Linked DNA regions of Homo sapiens: regions 2, 3, 4 and 5 are each linked to region 1. The links are contacts of gene promoters, found by promoter capture Hi-C in blood cells and fetal thymus (Javierre and others, 2016). All regions are on one chromosome and are shown on one strand. The core of a region is centred on a gene start or on the middle of the fragment in contact, and the rest is flanking DNA. Distances in the headings are between cores, read along the strand shown.

The links. The method cuts DNA at HindIII sites, captures the fragments that hold promoters and counts their contacts. A CHiCAGO score of 5 or more calls a contact.
Region 2: a fragment that was not itself captured here is called in contact with the fragment with the promoter of KHDRBS3 in region 1 in 1 of 17 cell types (M2 macrophages); the score reaches 8.7 in M2 macrophages.
Region 3: a fragment that was not itself captured here is called in contact with the fragment with the promoter of KHDRBS3 in region 1 in 1 of 17 cell types (M2 macrophages); the score reaches 6.4 in M2 macrophages.
Region 4: a contact is called between a fragment that was not itself captured here and the fragment with the promoter of KHDRBS3 in region 1, in 1 of 17 cell types (endothelial precursors). The highest score is 5.0, in endothelial precursors.
Region 5: a contact is called between a fragment that was not itself captured here and the fragment with the promoter of KHDRBS3 in region 1, in 1 of 17 cell types (M2 macrophages). The highest score is 7.3, in M2 macrophages.

What each region holds. Positions count from the first base shown.
Region 1 is chr8:135,455,448-135,459,550 of GRCh38, forward strand. It overlaps KHDRBS3 (KH RNA binding domain containing, signal transduction associated 3), which reads left to right and starts at 2,009. Exons shown (of 9, transcript NM_006558.3): 1 at 2,009-2,507. The coding sequence starts at 2,420. It overlaps LOC101927872 (a long non-coding RNA gene), which reads right to left and starts at 2,528. Exons shown (of 4, transcript XR_002956731.2): 1 at 2,435-2,528. RefSeq lists a silencer at 1,881-2,180. The HindIII fragment of the contact is 3,136 bases long and covers 1,546-4,103 here.
Region 2 is chr8:138,109,310-138,113,412 of GRCh38, forward strand. No RefSeq gene overlaps it. Among named protein-coding and RNA genes, the nearest start is that of FAM135B, 390 kb to the right of the region's middle. The HindIII fragment of the contact is 1,644 bases long and covers 1,217-2,860 here.
Region 3 is chr8:137,839,241-137,843,343 of GRCh38, forward strand. All of the region lies in intron 2 of LOC401478 (a long non-coding RNA gene), which reads right to left. Among named protein-coding and RNA genes, the nearest start is that of FAM135B, 660 kb to the right of the region's middle. The HindIII fragment of the contact is 3,283 bases long and covers 680-3,962 here.
Region 4 is chr8:137,500,522-137,504,624 of GRCh38, forward strand. No RefSeq gene overlaps it. Among named protein-coding and RNA genes, the nearest start is that of LINC02055, 970 kb to the left of the region's middle. The HindIII fragment of the contact is 745 bases long and covers 1,624-2,368 here.
Region 5 is chr8:137,478,438-137,482,540 of GRCh38, forward strand. No RefSeq gene overlaps it. Among named protein-coding and RNA genes, the nearest start is that of LINC02055, 950 kb to the left of the region's middle. The HindIII fragment of the contact is 1,508 bases long and covers 1,166-2,673 here.

The DNA.
Region 1 (4,103 bases), core at 759-3,258:
TCCAGACTCCTGCCCTTCTGGGTGAGGGTGGTTTGGGAAGTGCCCTTTTTGTTTCTGGGGCTGAGAGGCCAGTCATAGACCTGGGATTGAGAAGAGCAGCCACAAGCAGCCTACAAGCCTGACGCTGGGCCCAGGTCAGAAACAGAGGTGCGACAGTCACAGGTCCTTCACTCAGTTGGCCAGGCCGGGGCGAAGCACCACGACCAGCAGTGAGGAGTCCACAGATGGGTGTCTGCCCAGCATCCCTGGAGTTACAGCTGAAGGGAAGGCGAGGGAGGCTCAGAAGGCCCAGAGGACAGCCTTGCAGCCGGAAAAAACCCAAAGCAAAGATCAGCTCAGCATTTCCGATAGGCAGAGTGCTGTTTTGGGTATTTCATTATGAGTTAACATATTTATTCTCATGAACTTCTTATGAAATAAGTTTGGTTGTCATCTCCACTTGACGGATGAGGACCCTGAGGTGAAGAAACTTGCCCAAGGTCACAGCTAGTGAGCAGCAGATCCATGATTCCAAATCCAGGCTGTTTAACCCCAGAGGCTTTGCTTTTAACTGTGCCATTTTTCTGCTTCTTGCAAGTTGAGACTGAAGAGAGCCATGAAGAAGACTCTTACTGGGGACTCTGAAATGACACCTTAGCCGGGGGAGGAGTGGAGCCTTGAGAGTGAGGGCAGTTGAGTACTCGGGTCTGGGACTTAGAGCTTCCAAGATTTCTACCACCTCCCACTCCCCTCGGGTTTGTAAAGCTGCCTCCATTTGCATTGGGAGTGCGGGGGGGCTGCCTGGGGGACTGTGGCGATTGTCCTCAGGCTATTGGCTGAGAGTGGTATGCCACTGACTTATTCCTCCAAGAGACATTTCCAGTACCCTCCATCCCTGCCCCCTGTACTACACACTGGTGACCTTCCCCCTCAAAAACAAAACTCAAACTCTGTCCCTGATGCTCATGGTCTACTGAAAACAGAATTACAGCTGTCTGTGAATGACCTCTGACCAAGCTGGGGGGACACAGAGAAGGGACTTGTGACTTGCTTTGCCAGGGAGGTCCTGAGAGGCTGTCCAGGGAAGGTGACATTGAGGCCGGGACTTGAGCTGGCTGTTTGAAGGCAGGAAAAATGGCAGGGCAAGGACTGGAGTCCTTCGCCTTCCTGGGGGACGTTTATTCCACATGCCTCGGGAAATCTGAAATGGCCTTGGAGAGCATTTGCTGGGGGTTGGGGGTGGGCGGAAGGGGACAGAGAGCATTGCCACCGACAGGCGGGGCGTCCCAGGGCCTCTCCCCAGGAGCGGATGAGCTCAGACGCGGCTCACTCAGCTGTGTCCAGGCACAGCCGGTTTATGACCTAAGAGAATGACAACCCAGGAGCAAGTCGGGATGACAAAGACGCCCAGAAGGGCACGCGCTTTTATGTAACCGACCTCTGAGCTGGCGGATCTCAGGAGGTTGGCGCTCTGAGCTCAGGCGCGGAGAAAGGACGGCGCCCCTGCCTTACTCTCTTATAAGTACGAGGGGACAGCAACGCGACATAACTTAGAGAAGTCCAGGAAGCTTTAGAGAGCAGGGCGGTCCCGCTGCTATTCCTCAGAGCGCGACTGGGGCGAACTGGGGCGCCCTTCCCAGCTCCAGCTCGGCCCTTGTCCCCTCTTCCCAGGATCACTCGCTGGGTGACCTTGGGCGAGCCACTTGACTTCTCTGAGCCCCAGTTTCCCAGTCCGTGCATCTGAAAGGCTGTAATAGCGTCGTGGGGCTCCCCACTCGGCCCTCAGGGCCAAAGGTGGGCGCCGGACACGCGGGAGGGGCCCTTGGACGCACCCCCTCTCGCAAACGCCCGGTTAGTCCCGGCGGACTCGCAGTGGAGAGCGGCCCCAGGAGGCGGCGGGCGGCGGGGCGGTGGGCGCCAGTGCGCAGGCGCGGCGCGGCAGGGCGGGGCGGCGGGCGCGGGGCGGGGCGGGGCGGAGCCGGGCGGGGCGGGGCCGGCGGCAGGCGCTGGGCGCTCGGCGCGGTGGCTCAGAGTGCGCGGGGCGGCGCGCGGCGTGCAGGTCGCAGCTGTGGCTCGGGTGCTGGCAGGTGCTGGCGGGACTGGCGGGGATCGCCGTGGACTGCCTCAGGGGCGCCGCAGCCCGCTCGGCCCGAGGGCCCGCCTAACCGCGCCGCCCGCGCCCGCTCCTCCTCGGCCCGCGCCCGGAGCGCGGGGGCCGCCGGCGCTGGGTACTCGGCGGCCACCGGGGATCGGGGCTGAGCGGTCGGTTCCCGCCCCCGTGCCGCCGCCGCCGCCTTCCGGCCGACCGCCCGGCTTGGCCGCTGCTGCCGCGTCTGGCCCCCGGGTCCCCGCCGCTGGGGGCGCGGGCGGGGTCGGGGGTTGCCGGGCGCCGCCCCCCGTGCGCCTGGAGTCCACATCCCGGGCCCGGCGGCCGGCGAGCATGGAGGAGAAGTACCTGCCCGAGCTGATGGCGGAGAAGGACTCCCTGGACCCCTCCTTCACGCACGCCCTGCGCCTGGTGAACCAAGGTGAGGCGCCGGCCGTTAACTGCCGGCCGGCGGCGGTTGGGGGCCGGGTGGAAACGCGGGGGCCCAGGGGGCCCCTCCGTGCCCTCTGCTGTCAGCGGACGCGGCGGAGACGGAGGCCCGGGTGGCCCCCGGGGTCGTTTGCACGGGGACCTGGGAGGCTGTGGGACACCTAGGGGAAGACCCTGATGTGAATTTTGGGGACTTGGAAGGAGAAGGCTGGGGCGCATGGGTGAGACTTGAAGGAAATCTTTGGGGACTCGGGCACACCCAGGGGAAACTTCTGGGTGGGGGACAGCGACCATCTGGGGGCTTCGTTGGGAACGAGGTTGAATTATGTCATGGAAGGGGAGCGTGTTGGACTCGGGGAAGTAGGGCGTTTGGTTTGTCTAAGGTACTGGAGAAAAAGCTGGAGGAAAATGGAAGGACTTGAGGGACTCAAATGCAGAAGAGGTGAAGGGAACAGGTGCTTGCATTGTTAGCGAAGTTTGGGGACCTTGGAAGAGGGTTGGGGTCAGACCCCAGCACCTGAGAGGAGAGGAGCTCCGTGGTCCCAGGGGAGGAGCCCAGTTCCCCCTCCCAGCCCTTTGTCTCTCCTGTGTCCAGGCTCCAACAGCCCTGGCGGGGCAGTCAGCCCTCCCAGGGGATGGGCAGCCCATGCCAAGCCTTGCAGGCTGGCCCTTGGAGAAGTCAGTAGGGGAGAAGAGGCCGGCAAAAGAGCACCGTTCCGGAGGGCGTTGGGTTGGGTGACCCTCATTGGTGGCTGGCTTGAGGTTCGGAATAGTGGTGAAGGGAGTCCTTGCCATTTTCACACGACTCCAGCCAGCTCAGGGTGTGAAAGATCCTAGGAAGTACTGCGGGTCAGGGATACAGAGATTTCTGGAGGCACGCCTACCCGGGACAGTGTTCCCCTGGCTTTTTCCTCCTGTGGCTTCCTGAATCATCTGCTGGCATGCACGGTAAATTAAGCCTTCCTTCCTGGGAGCAGTCTCCTACTTTTCCTGGAATATGTGTTTCAGATGAAGATGGGTGTGGGTGCCACTGGTCTGTCTTTTCTCTGGGAAATGGCAGCAACATGATCTGGTCAGATCTGTTACCTTTTGCAGGAATTACTGTGCACTGACAGTCTGTGGTTCCCTAGATGAATCGGATCTGCTGCTCTTAGTGCTCGCCCTGGCTTTTTTATTGTTGGAAGTGAAAGATGAGGCAGACATATTCTATTTGTATATAGATACCTATATTTTAAAACAGTGACCTCCAGTTTTTGCCTGTTTCAACCAGTTCTTCAGAGTAGAGTGTGTGTGTGGTTGACCGATGGTGGAGGAGAGACTCTTTACTGTCTCCAAGAATTTAAGAATATTTGAATTGTTGAACAGAAATAGACTTATGGAGCTCCCTCATTTTATTTTAATTGCAGGCTTATTTTTATTTCTTTAATAAAATGGGCTTGTGAAAAAGTGAATGGGCATGCATTCCTAAATAAAAGAAAAAAAATTAAGTTTTATTTCTATGCCCTCTGAACAGTTCTGCAGTTGAGTTTGTACTCCTGTGCCTGATGATTTACATGTATCTTTTATTGCCTGCTGGGCTGTCATCTCT
Region 2 (4,103 bases), core at 789-3,288, 2.7 Mb after region 1:
ACTGTTTCTCCATTTTAGTATGCCCTTAGGACAACTTCCAAGACAGCCCTCACATTTTCCTCACCACCTTGACTAAACTTTAGACAGGCTTCTTCCTGCCTCTAGGACCCTTGGACTCTCTTTTCTTGGAATATTTACTTTAGAAAACTATTAATTGTGCATTATTTCTCCGAGCCCCTGTGATATAAATCTCTTACCAAGCCTTTTGTCAGTTTCACAACCCAGAACTGTCTATCTCCGGACCCTGGGAACCATCTCTTTGCAACACAATCGTCACAGAAGTACCGTCCCTTTCTCCCAGCCTCTGCTACAAGGTGGGAGCCTGACTTTGGTGAGTGCATTGCTCCAAGTTGTTGGACTCCCTCCTGTCATAAGGTGAAAATGTTTACTTTTCTTGAGTAAAATCAATTGACAAACACAGATGGCCCATGATCTCCTTCACACTCCAGCACTTGAAGTCCTTCCTGCCTTTTGTTTCAGCAAAGTTCAGCTCTGACTGAGTCCTGGCCTCGCTCCTCTATTGCAATGGCCTTGAATAAACTCTTTCTTCCCTACTTAATTTGGTGCAAATTTGTTTTTGAAATTCTGATGATTTTTTAAAATAATTCTCACCAGAGAAGTTGTGGTTGTGCTGGGGATAAAGTCCACTGAGCTCCTTACTCATCATTCCAGAAGTCTCCACTCTTGGGATGCGACGTGCACACTTGACTGAGGGAGTCTCCAAGATTGTTTAGCCCCCCTCCATCCTCAACGCCTAGCACAAAGTAGGTTCATAGTAGACAGTGAATGAATGAATAATAACAACACATACAATTCATGATCCAGACACTGTGCTGGGTTCTGGGAGATTTAACGGTAAGCAAAAGAATCAGAGCTTACACCAGGCTGGGTCATGATTGTGCTCAGATCTCAGCAGAAACTTAGATGATTTTCCCTAAGAGCAATGAGAAGCCATTAAAGATTTTTTTTTTTTAACAGGAGGTGATGTTTTTCATGTATATCTTTAAATGATGTCTGTGAAATGAGCTTTTTTTATAAATGCAAGGACAGATTTTATTTTCCCTTGATGTTCTGAGCCCAAGATCCATTTCCAATTACTCTGACTCATCTTTAATTACCATCCTCCATGCAGGCGGAGAAGCCTCCATGGGCCCCATGGAGTGGGCAGAAGTGAGGGCAAGGTGGAAAAGGGCATGGGAAAGGAAACATGGCCAAAAGCTTTTTCCGTTTCACTTATTGGAAAATATATTATTGGGGGAAATGAAGATGATATGAAGCCAAAAAGCAAATATTAACGTTCAACCTACATGCCCAGGGTTTAATGAGAATTAGTCTAACAACTGGTGTCAATTTAAAAGGACTTAGAGAGCCTACTGATTAAAATATGAGGAAAAGTTATTCTGTTCCTGAGCCAGACATAAGTTTTGTTTTGTTTGTTTCGGTTTTTTGTTTTTTTTGGCGGAGGGGATATCATTTTTTTTTTTTTTTTTTATGAGATGGGTAGAGGAAAGGAGATTCGGAACAAAAGCAACCCCCAGCCTCCTGATGGAGAAGCAAGAGTAAAACCTCCTGGCTTAGAAGCTGTTAATAAATACCACACATATATACAAAGGGACGCAGGGAGTGGTGCTACCAGTATGGGGCTGGGGGCAAATCTCCTGGTATCCTGTAGATTAGGTCACTGAACCGTGTGTCCTGGAGCAACTGAGGTGCCCTTTCTGAGCCTCAGTTTTCTCATTGGTAAAATAAAGTGATTGAACTGATGATTTTAAGGGGAACTACCAGCTCTAAAAACACCAATGTCTCTGTAGTCTAAGGAAAGAAGGAATTGATATTAGTGTTGCTGAACAGAGCAGATCTTCAGGAAACTTTAGTCAATTATTTTTACCTTTGGAAACAGTGAGTAGTAGGTCATTTCCCTCCATGACCCTGCCATTTCTCTCCCTACACCCCATCTGTCAAATGACTATGCCTGTAATATTCTCTTTGGAATAAGCTAATTCATTGAAATAAAAGTAAATAAAGAGGAACAATAAAAAGATAACAGAGGGGAATTGATGCTGGCAGTGTGGTATTTCTCTAAGAACAAAGACTTTGGCCCAGACTCCCTGACGTTAAGTGCTGGTGTCCTGGTCTCCCTGTCAGCTGTGTGTTGTCGGCAAATTACTCTCCAAGTTTCTGTTTCTGCATCAATAAAATGGAAGTAATATTCATACGTATTTCATGGGGTTTTGAGGACTATATGGCATGATGCCTGTGTTTAAAGAAATAGACTAAGAGAGTGAAACAAGAATGGTATTGATAGAAATTTTACTAGCAACAGGAGGCCCCATCCCTTCAGGAACCAAAGCCCTGGGAGATCAGAGTCAGTGGGGGAGAAGTAGAATACATTCTTTAAAACTAAAGTCCCTGCATGCTACCTTTGATCCACTTTAGCAAAGCACCAATCTCTTAGTGTTGTTGGTTACCTAGCCATGTCTGGGCTGATTATTTGACAGGCACTGGGCCAGCAATTGCATGCACCAGGCGTCCCACCGGGGATTTTGGTATCCAACTGCCTTTGACTGGTTAGAGATGGGTTTGTGGTGCTACGTCAGCTTTTCACCATTTTCAGCAAGCTGTGTCACATGCATGGTGCTAGGCAGAGTTCTTAGCATGTAATAATATCAGTTTTTATAACTAATATCACTTAAAAATGTACACACAATAAAAACACTCAACACTAGATCATAGTTGTTCTTAGAATTATGCAATGTGCCCTGACAGTCCCCTGCTCTAGCGGCTGGCATTCAGCCTGCTCCCATATGGCCATCAGAATTGACCCAGCAATGGTCAGACTGATGCCATCCATCATGTCCTAAGCTTTTAGCGTCGATTTGCTGTGCACTTTAGAGTTTTATTGCATATTAAGCATTTTATTGCATAAGCTCTGTAACGTGGATTTGCGACCTATAATATCCATTCACTCGTCCTATTCCAGTTCAGAAAATTGTGCTTATGATGCTCTTCTAATTTCACATGCAGCCAGGACCTACCCCAAAGCCTCCCTCCTCCCTCAGCATAAGGCAGCCCTCGTCAGTCCCCAGACGCATTCCTGCACACCTGTACCCGTGCCTTTGCACAGGCTGTTTGCTTTGCCTGCTCCTCCTCCCTCCATCCTCTATCTGGAAAACTCTGGATCTTTGTTCACAATCCAGCCAAATCTCCCCCTCATTATAACTCCCCCACCCCACCTCCCCTAAGCATCATTGCTCCTTGCCTCTATATCCCTAGAGCTCTTTGCACATTATATCACCTTGCATTATCTTTGGGTCCCAGTTTCTCTACAGGAATAATGGGAAAGTAACAAAGAAGCATTCATATTTACAGAATAGCTCAAGAGGCAAGAATGTCAACAATGTTTCACACATGTAAAGACTTTGGAGACTTGTCTGAGTAGGGAATGATGTTCAGGGGAGTCTGGAGGGCGTCCTCCTAAGGCACAGTAGTTTTCTGAGTCTGCAGATGGAGACTCCAGTTCCCTCAAGTGGGGGTGGAGACAGGGGAAGGGGTTACAATGTGTCTTTGTTTACACAAGCACAAAACTGTTGCTCACCCATCCTCAGTGTTAATACAATGCCAAGCTGGCAACTGTTTTGCAAAGTTGACAGCTGTCTGTGAGGTTTGAATGAAATAGTATTTTACGCAATATTTTTAATGGGCGGGGGGGGGGTGGGCATTGCAGACCTAAAAGGGGTAGATTTGGGGGATAAATTTGCCTTACCTGCTTATTTCTATGCAAATGTCTGTCTTTTTTCATTCTCTGACTCTGTCCATGATCTTGGAGCAACTGGATCAGGCAACCTTAGCACCCCTCCGGGAATCCCATGGGGACAGATTAGCAGAGGCCTCCAAGAGAAAAGTAAAGGACAAAGAGGGCCGAGGTCATTGGCTAAGAAATGTGGATCTGGGTTTCCCTGAAACTGTGTAAGATACACAGGGCAGACAGAGTTATTGCTACTGTTTTATAGATAAGAAAAGTGAAGAAAGGTTGATTTAAAGGGGTTGATCAATAATATTATTGGGACCAGCATGGTGTGGACTGTGACACAGATAAAGAATAT
Region 3 (4,103 bases), core at 1,071-3,570, 2.4 Mb after region 1:
AACAAAATGAGGCCCTGTCTCAAAAAAAAAAAAAAAAAAGAAAAGAAAAAAAAGTAGTTAAGAATCATAAATTTAAAGCTAATGAACATAACAATGGCAAATAAAAGATAATAAAGCCATATGCTAAAAATACAAAATAACTAAAAATGAATGAATTTGTGAAGAAGAAAAATAGGTAGACAGAAAGACAGGGTGGAAAGAAGAAAGGAAAGGAGGAAAAATATTATACCAAGGAAAAGAGAGCAAATTTTAAAGAAAACAGAACAATAAAAAAGAAAAACTAGTTAGTTGTACTTGAAATCTGGCTATTTCATTGAAACACATTTGCTATTGTGTATGAAGAATCAATAACATGGACAGGGAAGAAAGAAGTTATAATTATCTTTCAAAAGCTCTTATTTCTCCAGTCTTCGTTAAGGTATGAAGCATCTGCAAAAAGTCCTGCAAAAGTGTCAAGATAGAATTACCTTTCTGAATCATTATTTCTTTTGCAGCAATTATCCCCCTGAATAATAAAGTTATGGAAATGAATGATAGAACCAACCTGAGGAAATTAATCAGCAAGCCTGGGAATACAATTTGGGTCTCCTTAACAATATTCCAACTTAATTGAAAACAAGGACAGTTAGGTTGGTTTTTGGTCGTTTTATGTCTTTAATATGTAATTTTCATAAACGAAAGCTTCATATTGCACTTTGGGGATGATGGTTACAGAGTACTTGATAAGTTTTACTGCAAGGACATGTAGTAATGTATATGCCAGCCTCTTATATGACAACTATTGAATTTACACTTTCAACTCTTTTAAAATATAAACGTGTGGATTGCATACTCCTGTGTTTTGCATTGCTTGTGAAATGTTGAGAAGGCATTGTGTTGACAAATGCAGCATGACATTAATCCAAGTGCATGATCCCCCTTCTGCTTGCCCCTAACTTCCCATTGCAGCCTGATGGTACATATGTGTGAGTTTATTCTTTGTGATTTCTGCAGAACATCATCTAACAACACAGGGACACTATCAGAAGAAGACCACGAAAGGTTATGCCCTTTGGAGTCAATATTGAGGTTCTCTATCACACTGGAAAGAAACAGACCTCAGACAACGGATTACTAACCACACTTCACTGAAAGCACCATCAGAGAAACATGTGACAAAGACATGGAGATCAATGTGCTACTCTGGAATATCTCTGCATTTCCCCAAGACTGTCCTGAAAGACCAGCAATGGAGAATAGTTGTACCAGGAGTGGAGTGGTCAGATGTGTCTGTCTTTGTCATACATTGCTAGCAATTTTGGTTGTTTCTCAATAAACATTTTTAAAATTTATTTTCCCTAAATTGTTCACTGTTCACATTCATCCATTTATCCACTTACTCAATAATTATTTTTTGAGTATCTATTCTGCGGTGAAATTAAAGACCAAAGTAGGGGATAGAGAAGTAAAGTTGAGATCACTGGGCTTTATTACTTTTTAAAGCCAGGGGATAGCAATGACGTCAGCTTGAGAATGAGTTACAATAGCAACCAGTAAAGGATAGCACTGGCTTTAAACAAAAATAAACCACCAGAATATATTTTCTGATTTATCTGTGTTTCTGATGAGGACATCCGTTTATCTATTTTAAATGAAGTGTTGCTAGATACCCACCAGTTTTCAAGAATCTAACCACTGGGTAAATAAAAGGAAAAAATGGGAAATTCTGACACAAGAGTGAAATATGAATGAGTGAACATAGAGAGCTATGAGGTTCTCATACTGTAGATGGTGTTTCTGTTGATCTTGGTTGCATTAGAACACATCTGCTGAAGTCCAGGGTCACCTTTGCTGAAGGTCAGTTACAGCCCATTATGAGTAAAGATATGTGGATGGAGAAATCTAGAAGAGCAGAGATAAATAGTATCTAGGTGTTTTAGGAGGCTTGAAGCATGGCATAGGAATCTGGTCACGGTGCTTTTTAAATAATGAACCATCTATCAAAAAAGCAAATGAGCTGTGGCTCCCACCTGTCATCCCATCTACTTGGGAGGCTGAGGTGGAAAGATCACTAGAGCCCAGGAGTTACAGTTCCAGACCAATTTAGACAACATAGCGAGACCACGTTTCTAAAAGAAAAGAGAGAAAGAGAGACAGAGAGAGAGAATGCCACTTGAGAAGATGAACGTCGAACACATCATATGGTTTTCAATTGATATGTGATGGTATTGAAATTAAAAATAATTGAGGAGCATATGGTCATATCAAGAATTACAAAATGTTTGTGAAAATGAGTCCCTCCAATTAATTCTTGATTCCAAAAATTGATTCCCAAAATGTAGTCACAGTAGATAAGAGATTAATAAAACATTTAGGATTCTTCACATTAAATGATCATTATTTTCTTCTCTCTCTCTCTCTCTTTTAAGAGACAGAGCCTTGCTCTGTTGCCCAGGCTGGAGTACAGTGGCATCATCATAGCTCACTGCAGTCTCAAACTCCTTGGCTCAAGGGAGCCTTCTGCCTCAGCCTCCCAAATAGCTAGAGCTATAGGTATGTGGCACCACCACACAACTACATTTTTAAACAAAATTCTTTGTAAAGACAGAGTCCTACCATCTTGTCCAGGGTGGTCTTGAACTCCTGGGCTCAAGGGATCCTCCCACCTTGGTCTCCTAAAGTGTTGGGATTACAAACATGACCCACCACATGCAGCCACAAAAGATCACTATTTTCTAAATTAGTCCAGGTTTCTAATGCTGATATTGATAGCTTCCCTTATTGAGCCCCATCAATAGTTTTTGCTTTGGCTCCTAGTACTCTAATATTTTCTTAAATCACTAGAATCCTCAGCCTCTTTATAAGTAAACTCTGTATTGTATTTAAAACACCATACTTTCTGATGCCAAAACCTTAAAGAAAGGGAAGGGGCAGGAACAGCAGAAGCAATGCATTAAGATTTCTTGATAAAGTTCCCTTCCTTACATTAAGGAAACAACTTAAGACACACGGAGAGTGGATTAATATAATTGAAACCCAGTCCATAAATTCTCTTTCACATCTTACTTTCAATGTTTAAAAGCTGTTTCTTCTCTTGAATTTAACAAGGGTTTATAACAGATGTGCATTCTAAAGAAGAGTGAGGGTTTGGATTCTCCCGGGAGTACACTTCAAATCAAGGATGCAAATGCAAGTTGTTATTTGGAAGCTGTAGAGAGCCAGGACAGGGCAGGGTGAACAGGAGGAGACAGTGAAGGATGAGTTAGCAAGTCGCTCTGGACAACTGGTGCTTAGTCCCGTGGAGAAACTATTTCATCTGAGGGCCAAGCAACTCTAAATTCATTTTTCTTCTTTTGTTCTTCCAAATGTATCCATTTTTTAATTTTACAGGTAAAATTTTAAGTATCATGTACAACATGATGTTTTGAAGTCTATATTACATTGTGGACTGGTTAAATCTTACTAATTCACATGTGCATTAACTTGCACAGCCATCATTTTTGTGGTGAGAACACTTAACATCCCTCTCTTAGCATTTTTCAAGAAATATGTCTTTATATAAAAACTCAAACCATCCCTTGCTTGAGGGCGGCTGTGGGGCCTGCCATTCTACTGGGCCTGCAGCTCTGTAGAAATCCCTGTCAAAGCAATTAAGGTGCTGGTAGTTGGAAGTCAGTCAATAAGAGTACACTGAAGTGATAAGGTCTGGGGAATAAGGGCAGGACAAGCATAACCTCTGCAACAAAATCATCTCATAAAAACACCACCACCAACGCCAACGCATCATCTGCTTGGAGCATATCCTTGATAGGATTTTTCCTGCATAACCTCTAGGCTTCCGAAGCACCCTTTGAGCAAGAAATGTTTTTCTCATTTACAGATAAGAAAGTTGTCGTAGAGGGATGAGATGTCAGTTCCAGAGGCAACAGCTGTCATGTGACAGGATTAAGTCAAAATCAAAGTTTCTATCACTGGATTCCTTAAGCTTTACATAGATAAGAAAGTGTGATAACGAAGATTATCTGTGGAGAGGATATGAGAAGAAAAAGCTGAAGCCATCACCAGAGACAATGCTGTGGCCAGTGGGTCTGTCCTGCTGAGGCACGGGTGGCTAATCTGGAGCC
Region 4 (4,103 bases), core at 746-3,245, 2.0 Mb after region 1:
GGTTTCCTGACAAAAGGATGAATTCAGCCCCATTACACACACACTCTCTCTCTGTTTCTCTGTCTCTCTCTCTTCCTCTCTCTCTTGCATGTCCCTGTTTGCTGACCCCCATGGGATGACTCAGCAAAAAGGCCCATACAAGATGCAGGCCCCTTGACCTTGGACTTCTCATCCTCCAGAACTATGAGAAGCAAACTAATTTTATTTATATATTATCCAGTCACTAGTATTCGGTTATAGCAACAAAAATGAACTAAGAACTCTGCTAGCTTCCTGCCAGGTGCTAGGTTGACTCTTCATAAATATACCTTCGTTTTTCTTTTTCTTTTTTTTTTTTTTTGGAGACAGAGTCTCATTCTGTTACCCAGGTTCGAGTGCAGTGGTGTGATCTCGGCTCGCTGCAACCACCGCCTTCTGGGTTCAAGCGATTCTCCAGCCTCAGCCTCCTGAATAGCTGGGACTACAGGGGCATGCCACCACACCCAGATAATTTTTGTATTTTTAGTAGGGAAGGGGTTTCACCATGTTGACCAGGCTGGTTTCTAACTCCTGGCCTCAGGTGATCCACCCGCCTCAGCCTCCCAAAGTGCTAGGATTACAGGTACGAGCCACCGTGCCCAGCCATAGTTTTATTTATAAACTGACATCACCAATGTATAAAGTAGAAAAGGAAAATGTTGAATTCATAATGAAGGGCTTGTAATGGGTACTATAATGATATGCTTTTGAATTACCCTATTTGTTGACTTTATATGTTTATGATACAAAGCTCCCGCTTTGCCTTATTTCCTGCTGTGAAATTCAAACTTATTTGCAGAAAAAATAAAGAAAAAAATTTCCCAAGAATATTAATGTATTCAGTAAAAGCCTGAGCATTTCCTATGAAGTACACAATTATTCCTAGAACAGAATCTTGACCAGAGAGCTCTCCTCGAATTTTGCAGGAGTCTTCCTCTCATTTGGACATCAGCTTTCCTGCCGTCTTTGGCCTTGGCACATGTGGGAGTGTGTGTATGTGCAGGGAAACTGTGTCATTCAGTGCCATTCCCAAAGACTTCCAAAGACCCAACAGAGATTTCAAATAGTTCTTTTTGTCTAGTTCTGTTATGAACATGGAATTTTGAATCTGCAGAAAGCAAATTTGAGACTCATTTAAAATTTAATAAATAACCATAATATATTAAAAGTCAAATTATAATAGTGTGATGTTATTGAATTAGGGCAAATACATGACACTGTGAAATCCTTAATAAATTATGCATGAGGCATTCTGAATTGTTTACCTCAATTTGGACAATTTTAGAGATTAAAGAGTACTGTGTAATTTAGTTTGTAGTTTTAGGGCATAATGGGGAGAAGAGAAACATAGCTTGTATTTGTTCCAGCTTATTTTTGTATTAGTGTCTTACTTCACAATTGTGTTTGAAAACATTTATTTATTTACTTTACATTAATATTGCTTATCGTTCAATGTTTTCAGAAGTAAATCAACTTCAATAGAAGTTAAAAATGAAAGCTTCTTTTGGAAATAAATGTGGTTACTCTCACAAATCTTATCTATCTCTTGACTCTTTGTAAGACAATTGTCTACTCATACATTTATTTTCAAAATCATCTACTTCAAGCTTTAACATCAGAGCAAAATGTTTCTTGCTCATGAAACAATGAGAAATAGTAGAGTGTGTGTGTGTGTGTGTGTGTGTGTGTGTGTGTGCGAATTTTCCCTGGAGGAAGAGTTGGATGTCTAAAATAGGCAAAATAAAACACAATAAGGTAAATGTTTTCATAGAGATACTTAATTATTTGATGGGTCTTTGCTGCATATGAGGAAAGTAAGCATCAGGGTAGAGAAATATGAACTCCCTCTGCTAAAAAGAACAGAATTGCTGGTGGGAACCTGGGAGCAGCTTAGGCATAGGGACTCAGAATTGGAAGCACAGAGATACCGTAAACAATTGCCTCAAGAAAATATATTTTCTCTTTCGTCAACTTGACTTGGTGGTAAGTTAAGATGTAAGTATCAACCCAATTTTTCAGTCCATCTGCATTCTAATATATATGTTCATGCACCAGTGAATCAGAATTACTCTTGTTCACGTTCAGAGCTGAGATGTGTCCCAGCTTTGTGTTCTGATTCACCAGGTATTAGCACTTCTCTGTCAGCAATATCAGTGTGCTTCTCTGAGGGGTGTACTGCACCAGGAGTTTTGCCCTGGTCCTCTCCTAAGGAGAGAACATAGTTTTATGGTACAAAATTATCTCAAGAGGGCTGGTAATTGTAGTCTTCCTGTGTGCATAGGAAACGGGGAAAAAAACACAAAATGATAAATAGTATCAATCTCTGCCATACCCAGTCCCTTCAGTTTGAAGCTTTGATGCCTCATTTGGCAGAGCCAATATTGTATGCCCATCAAATTATTTCCTTTTTGTCCTTAACAAATAAGAAGACTACATTTCTCAGAACTCTTACATTTTCTTGGGATAATATGATGAAGTCTGGCCAATGAACATGGACAGGCATCATGTACACCACAAAACTCTCCAGAGAGATCACTGATATCTCTCTCTCTCTCCCCCAACTCCCTGAGTTACGGTAAAGGCAGTCTGAAGATTTAAGCCACTATAAGTAAATTTCTCAAGGCTCTTTCTAAAATGCTACAGATGGCCCTTCATAGTGAGTGGATTTGGCATTGAAAACAGAGAAAGGCAAAACTTCGCTAAGCACACATCCAGTGATGTAAATTCATCACAGTCTACTGATAATCTAAGAAACAACAGCAACAACAACTCATCCTCGTGTCCTCATTCATTCCTGTGTTCATTGCAACTGATACAATCCATGATACCTTTTAGGCTCTGGGTAAATATTTTGGTGAAAGGCAAAGGCAGTCTAGATAGAAAAAAATAAAAGGCTCACTCTTGAGCAGATGTTATTTTGGAGGATAAAAAAAAGTAGAGAGATATCATCTCTGTATTTTTACAAAGGTTTTTTTTTTAAAAAACAAAGGTTATTTCTGCCTTTCCTATTTGTGAGTCAGCAAGAGTTGGTTGGTCTAGTTGAACACGTCTCCAGGCTGTGAATTAGAACCACGTCTGGCCCACTTCTCTTATTCTTCTGGGCTGAAGGGAAAATGTTGCATAACTTTTTCATGGCAGTGACAGAAGTAAAAAGCAGCAGGTGAAATCTCACAAACACATTTTAAGCCCCCACTTGCATCATGTTTGCAATGACACATTGGCCAAGTTCAAAGCCATAGACAAAAGAAGTAGCCTTCACCTGCTACCAGACCATGGCAAGGAGGTGGATGTATAATGCTTCATGTTATAGGAGAGTTAAGAATGGTGACTAGGCCAGGCGCGGTGGCTCATGCCAGTAATCCCAGCACTTTCAGAGGCCGAGGCAGGTGGATCATGAGGTTAGGAGATCGAGACCATCCTGGCCAACATGGTAAAACCCTGTCTCTACTAAAAATACAAAAAAAAAAAAAATTAGCTGGGCATGGTGGTGGGCGCCTGTAGTCCCAGCTACTTGGGAGGCTGAGGCAGGAGAATCGCTTGAACCCAGGAGGCGGAGGTTGCAGTGAGCTGAGATCGCACCACTGCACTCCAGCCTGGGTGACAGAGTGAGGTTCTGTCCCAAAAAAAAAAAAAAAGAAAGAAAAAGGAAAAGGATGATGATCAATAAGTTAATCTACAGTATGTATTGAGAACTTAATTTATAAAACAAAATATCAAAGAATGGAAGGTATTGGGAAATAGAATAAGACAGTAATAAGAAAAAAAAAACAAAAAAAGAATCAGATGGTGAAATGTGGCTTCACTCTTTATTATCTTTGTTTTCTCAGAAAATTTATTTAACTCAATTTCTTCACTTAAACAATAAAAGACTTAATAATCTAGACTTAAAAAAATAGTTTTAACACTTAAAGTTCCTGACACATAGCAGAGGTTTGATAGTTGTTAGTTCCCCAAACATAGCACTGAGAAGCAAATCTATATTTGACTCCAAATTTCAGTCTTTTAACCAGGATGCAAAATTCATGCACTTGATGAGCCCATCATTATTGATAGGGCCAGCCTCATTCATGTTTTTTTTTTTTTTT
Region 5 (4,103 bases), core at 670-3,169, 2.0 Mb after region 1:
AATACTACCATGACATTATAAGCTCTCTTCTGTCACAACTCCTATCTTACCAAGCTTGGACTTTCCCCCTCTCATTAAGTTTCTTGTGTCCTGCGTCTATTAAAGCTACTCTATTCTGAGGCAGCTGCTGAAATCACATTGTTTTCAGTTCCAGCTTTGAATGCAAGTCCTGGTCCTACTCTTACTGACTGAGTGAAATTGGTCTACTCATGTAACCTCCCAGATTCATTTTCTTTCTTACTTTTTTGAATTCACAAATGGGTGTTTAAGTAACTTATTCCTCTCCTCAAAATGACCTAACCTATTAAAAAAAATCAAAGTCCTAATCACCGTCCCTAAATTCTTACATAATCTTTTTTTCTAATTTACCCTCAGTCTATCACCCCCTGTTTTTGTTTTTCTCTGCTCTACCAACGCTGGCCTTCATGCTATTTCTGGAAAACGCCAAGCACGCTCTGTCTCAGGGTCATTAGAACAATGACGTTCTCCACTGCCTGGAGCTCTCTTTTCTCCCACATTCTCATCATGTCCTCTACTAACTCTATGAGGGGTATGTTCAAATGTTACCATGTTAGCGAGGCCATCCCCATCTATCCCACCCAAACTGTTCCACTTCCCCACCTGGCAGTTGTTAGCATCCTTGGCTCCTGACAATGGAAGTCCATGACAGCAGGGGCCATTGAGAAAGCAGATGCACAGGGGAGGAAGGGTTTTTAGTGGGAACAGTCTGGTCATGAGTGCAAGGTGAAGATAAAATGGAAGAGGGAGGCTGAATAAATTTACACAAGTCCTCACTTATCACTATGAAGAGTTTGAACCTTGCTAGGAGTGCAATGAGAATTTACTGAAGAGCTTTAGGCAAATGAATGGCATAATATGATTTGCATATTAAACAGATTGTGCTGGTACAGGTGGAAAATGGATCAGAATGTGCAATATGCAAGGACATTACTTAAGAAATTCTGGAAAGTTGAGCTTTAAGCATGTCTAAGCCCACCAGATTCTATTAATACCTCAAGTCCAGGTGGTGAGATGTTGAAACATTTCAAGTCAGACAAATAGAAATGATGAAGGATGGCAATAGGATACTTTGTCTTTGGGAAGTGGAAACTAGAATGAGCTAGGGGGAAAGCAATAGAGGTTTAGAGGACCAAAACTTCCCCTAAGCTTAATTTTAATTAATTCATATTAGATATTTTCTTGAGGGAGCAAGGGAACTCCAGCAGAAACACAGTCCAAGTAGTTAATGCCAAAATCTGGCCCCATGGTCAAGACTTGGTGAGTTTAAACAGTAATTCAGCCAGTAATGAAAGCAGACAGAAGTACTAATCCAATGAAAGAAGACGGATATAGTTTCAGATTTTCCATTTGTAATAGAGAGTGATATAGTTCACCCAGGGAAAGTTAATTCTGCCTAGGAGTGACCATGAGTCTTAGAATGAGAAATAAAATCACATACGTAGCAAGAGTTTGTTACTGCAAGAAGAGTAGCAGTCAAGGAGAAAAATCAGAGTCAACTAGAAGGATTAAGATTTTGGCTTCTATTTGTTATTCTGGACACTGAACACGGGGTGTAGGGGTAAGAAATAGGTAGTATTTTAAGTGCCTTGTATTTTAACATTGTGTGTCTCCATGTAGTTGGGCCAAAGGAGAATATGTGTTCCAATGAACTGTGCTTGTCTGAGCTTGTCAAAAATCAAAAGAGAAACATGATGATATGTGAGGGCAGGATGGTTACTTGGAATAGTTTCAGCTTTTCTTGATAGAAAAAGCCTCTTGTGACCAGGAGCCTGATGTCTGTGGCCCCAGGTCTGCTTCAGCTTATGTGTTGTTAAGAAGTCTTTATGCCTTCCTGTGTCTGAAAAGCTACCATCTGTAAGAGTCAATAGGTTATTTCAGTAAAAACACAGAGACCAAAGAGAGGTACAATAAGTGAACATTTGGGAAGAGAAGAGTTGCACTTATCACAAGGAATGTCCTTCCAAATAAGAGCTAATTGTGAAAAATGTTAGTTTTTCTTCTGTTACTGGAAGTTTCATATAACTGAGTGACTGTTGCAGAGAATGTTACAGATGGTATTAAACTATCAGATTGCTGAGCTGGAATTCATTAATTTAAGATGATCTTAAGGCTCTAGTTGTGTATATTTTCTCATTTAATTTGTTTATTTGCACATTCAACCAATATTTATTAAGGACCCTCACTTAATCAGATTAGGATGCTGTAACAAACTACCATAGGCTGGGTGGCTTAAATAATAGAAATGCATTTCTCTCTGTTCTGGAGGCTGGGAAGTCCAAGATCAAGGTGTAGGCAGATTTGGTGTCTGTTGAAAGCTGTCTTCCTGGCTTATAGACAGCAGGCTTCCTAATGTGTGCTCACATGGCCTTTCTTTGGCTTTATTCTTACAGAAAGAGGGAGGGAGAGACAGAGAGAGAGAGGGAGAGAGAGAGCATCTTTCTTTTTTTGTAAGGACATTAATTCTATCATTGAACCCCTACCATCATGACAGAATCTAACCTAAATTATCTCCCAAAGGCCTCATCACCAAATACTATCACACTGGAAATAGAGACTTCAACATATGAATTTTTGGGGGACAAGAACATTTAGTTTGTGGTAGGCCCATGTATACTTTATATTTTTGCCAAACTTTAAAGATACAAAGAATTAAGCTTCACTCCATCTCTCTAGCCAACACCCTTGGGCTTGTTGAGCTTGGGATGTCTGTAAAGCAACCAAATATTATGCAGGCATTCAGACACTTGATTCTAAGGTTTGGAAAGATGGAACGGGGAGACTTGTGAATTGTCAGTACATAGATGCCCAATATGCCATGGGAGCATATGATACCACCTAAGGGTTGGGTGGAGAGAGAAAAGACATAGAAAGAGAGAGGAAGTACAATAACTGAACTTCAGAAAATGCAAAATCAGGACATTGAGGTGATGTAAGTTGAACTATTGAGAGGACCCCTGTAGCAGAAACGAGGAGACAACAGAGCAAGGGATGACCAGAGAGAGTGGGAGAGAGAGACTAGGAAATAAGTGAAGAACATTTTGAATCAGAAGGTAGTAGAGAGCTTTCTTGACAGGGATTCTGATAGTTTGAGTGAAATGAGGACTAAATATTGACCACTGAATTTGGAAACATTCAGATTAACTATGACTTTGACCAAAACTGCTTCTGTGGAATGGTAAGGGCAAATGCCTGAGTGCTTGACTGGCTTGGGTTTAAGGGAAATAGAAGTAACGAGGGAAAAGGAATATAAACTACTCTGTGAGGAACTTTGTGGTAAAAGCAAGTGAAGAAGTTAGGCATCAGCTGGAAAGATGTGGGAAAATAGCACAGATATTGTGAGATGGTAAATATTTTAGGATGTTTTTATGAATACAGAAAAGTTGCATTACAAGAAAATAGCAGGCAAGAAAAAGACAGGTAAATTGCAGAAGTAGTGTCCTTAAGTACACGTGATGCAATGGGATCCATTACACAAGTGGAACCTTAGAGTTAAATGCAAGCACAGGCATTTCATTAATTACAATAAAAATTAAAGCAGTATACATGCATTTTTACGTAAAGATTCTAGGATTTAGTGGTGAGAACATGTAGAATTTTTCAGGTTGTTTCTATTTTCCAGGGAAGAATAGAAGCAGCATCTTCAAACCCAAATTATGCTGTGGAAGAGATGTTAATATTTGAGGAGAGAGAAGGTAAAGAACAGAGGTCTTCCAGCTCAGAGATTTCCAAGTGGAGTTCTGCTAATGGATTATGAGTGTGCTATTATTGATCTCCTCAGCATTCAGGGCAGATGGGTGATTCCTAGGGTTGTCAGAGTTCCCTTTCCTCCCTCCCTTTTCTTGTATCAATTTCATCATCATTGTGTCATTGATTTTTTGTTTGTTTGTTTTAAGTTGGGAATTGTAGAGCTAGGACATTGAGAGAATGAACCGGAAAATTGGATAGAATTGCTGGGAAGATCTAAGGAGATACATGAGAACAGCCAGTAAGATTTTGTTTTTTTTTTTCCAGTTACCAAATAAGTTTGCTTCTTTTGGTATAGTCATGGAGTAAGCAGTGACTGAGACTTAATCAAGTTTACA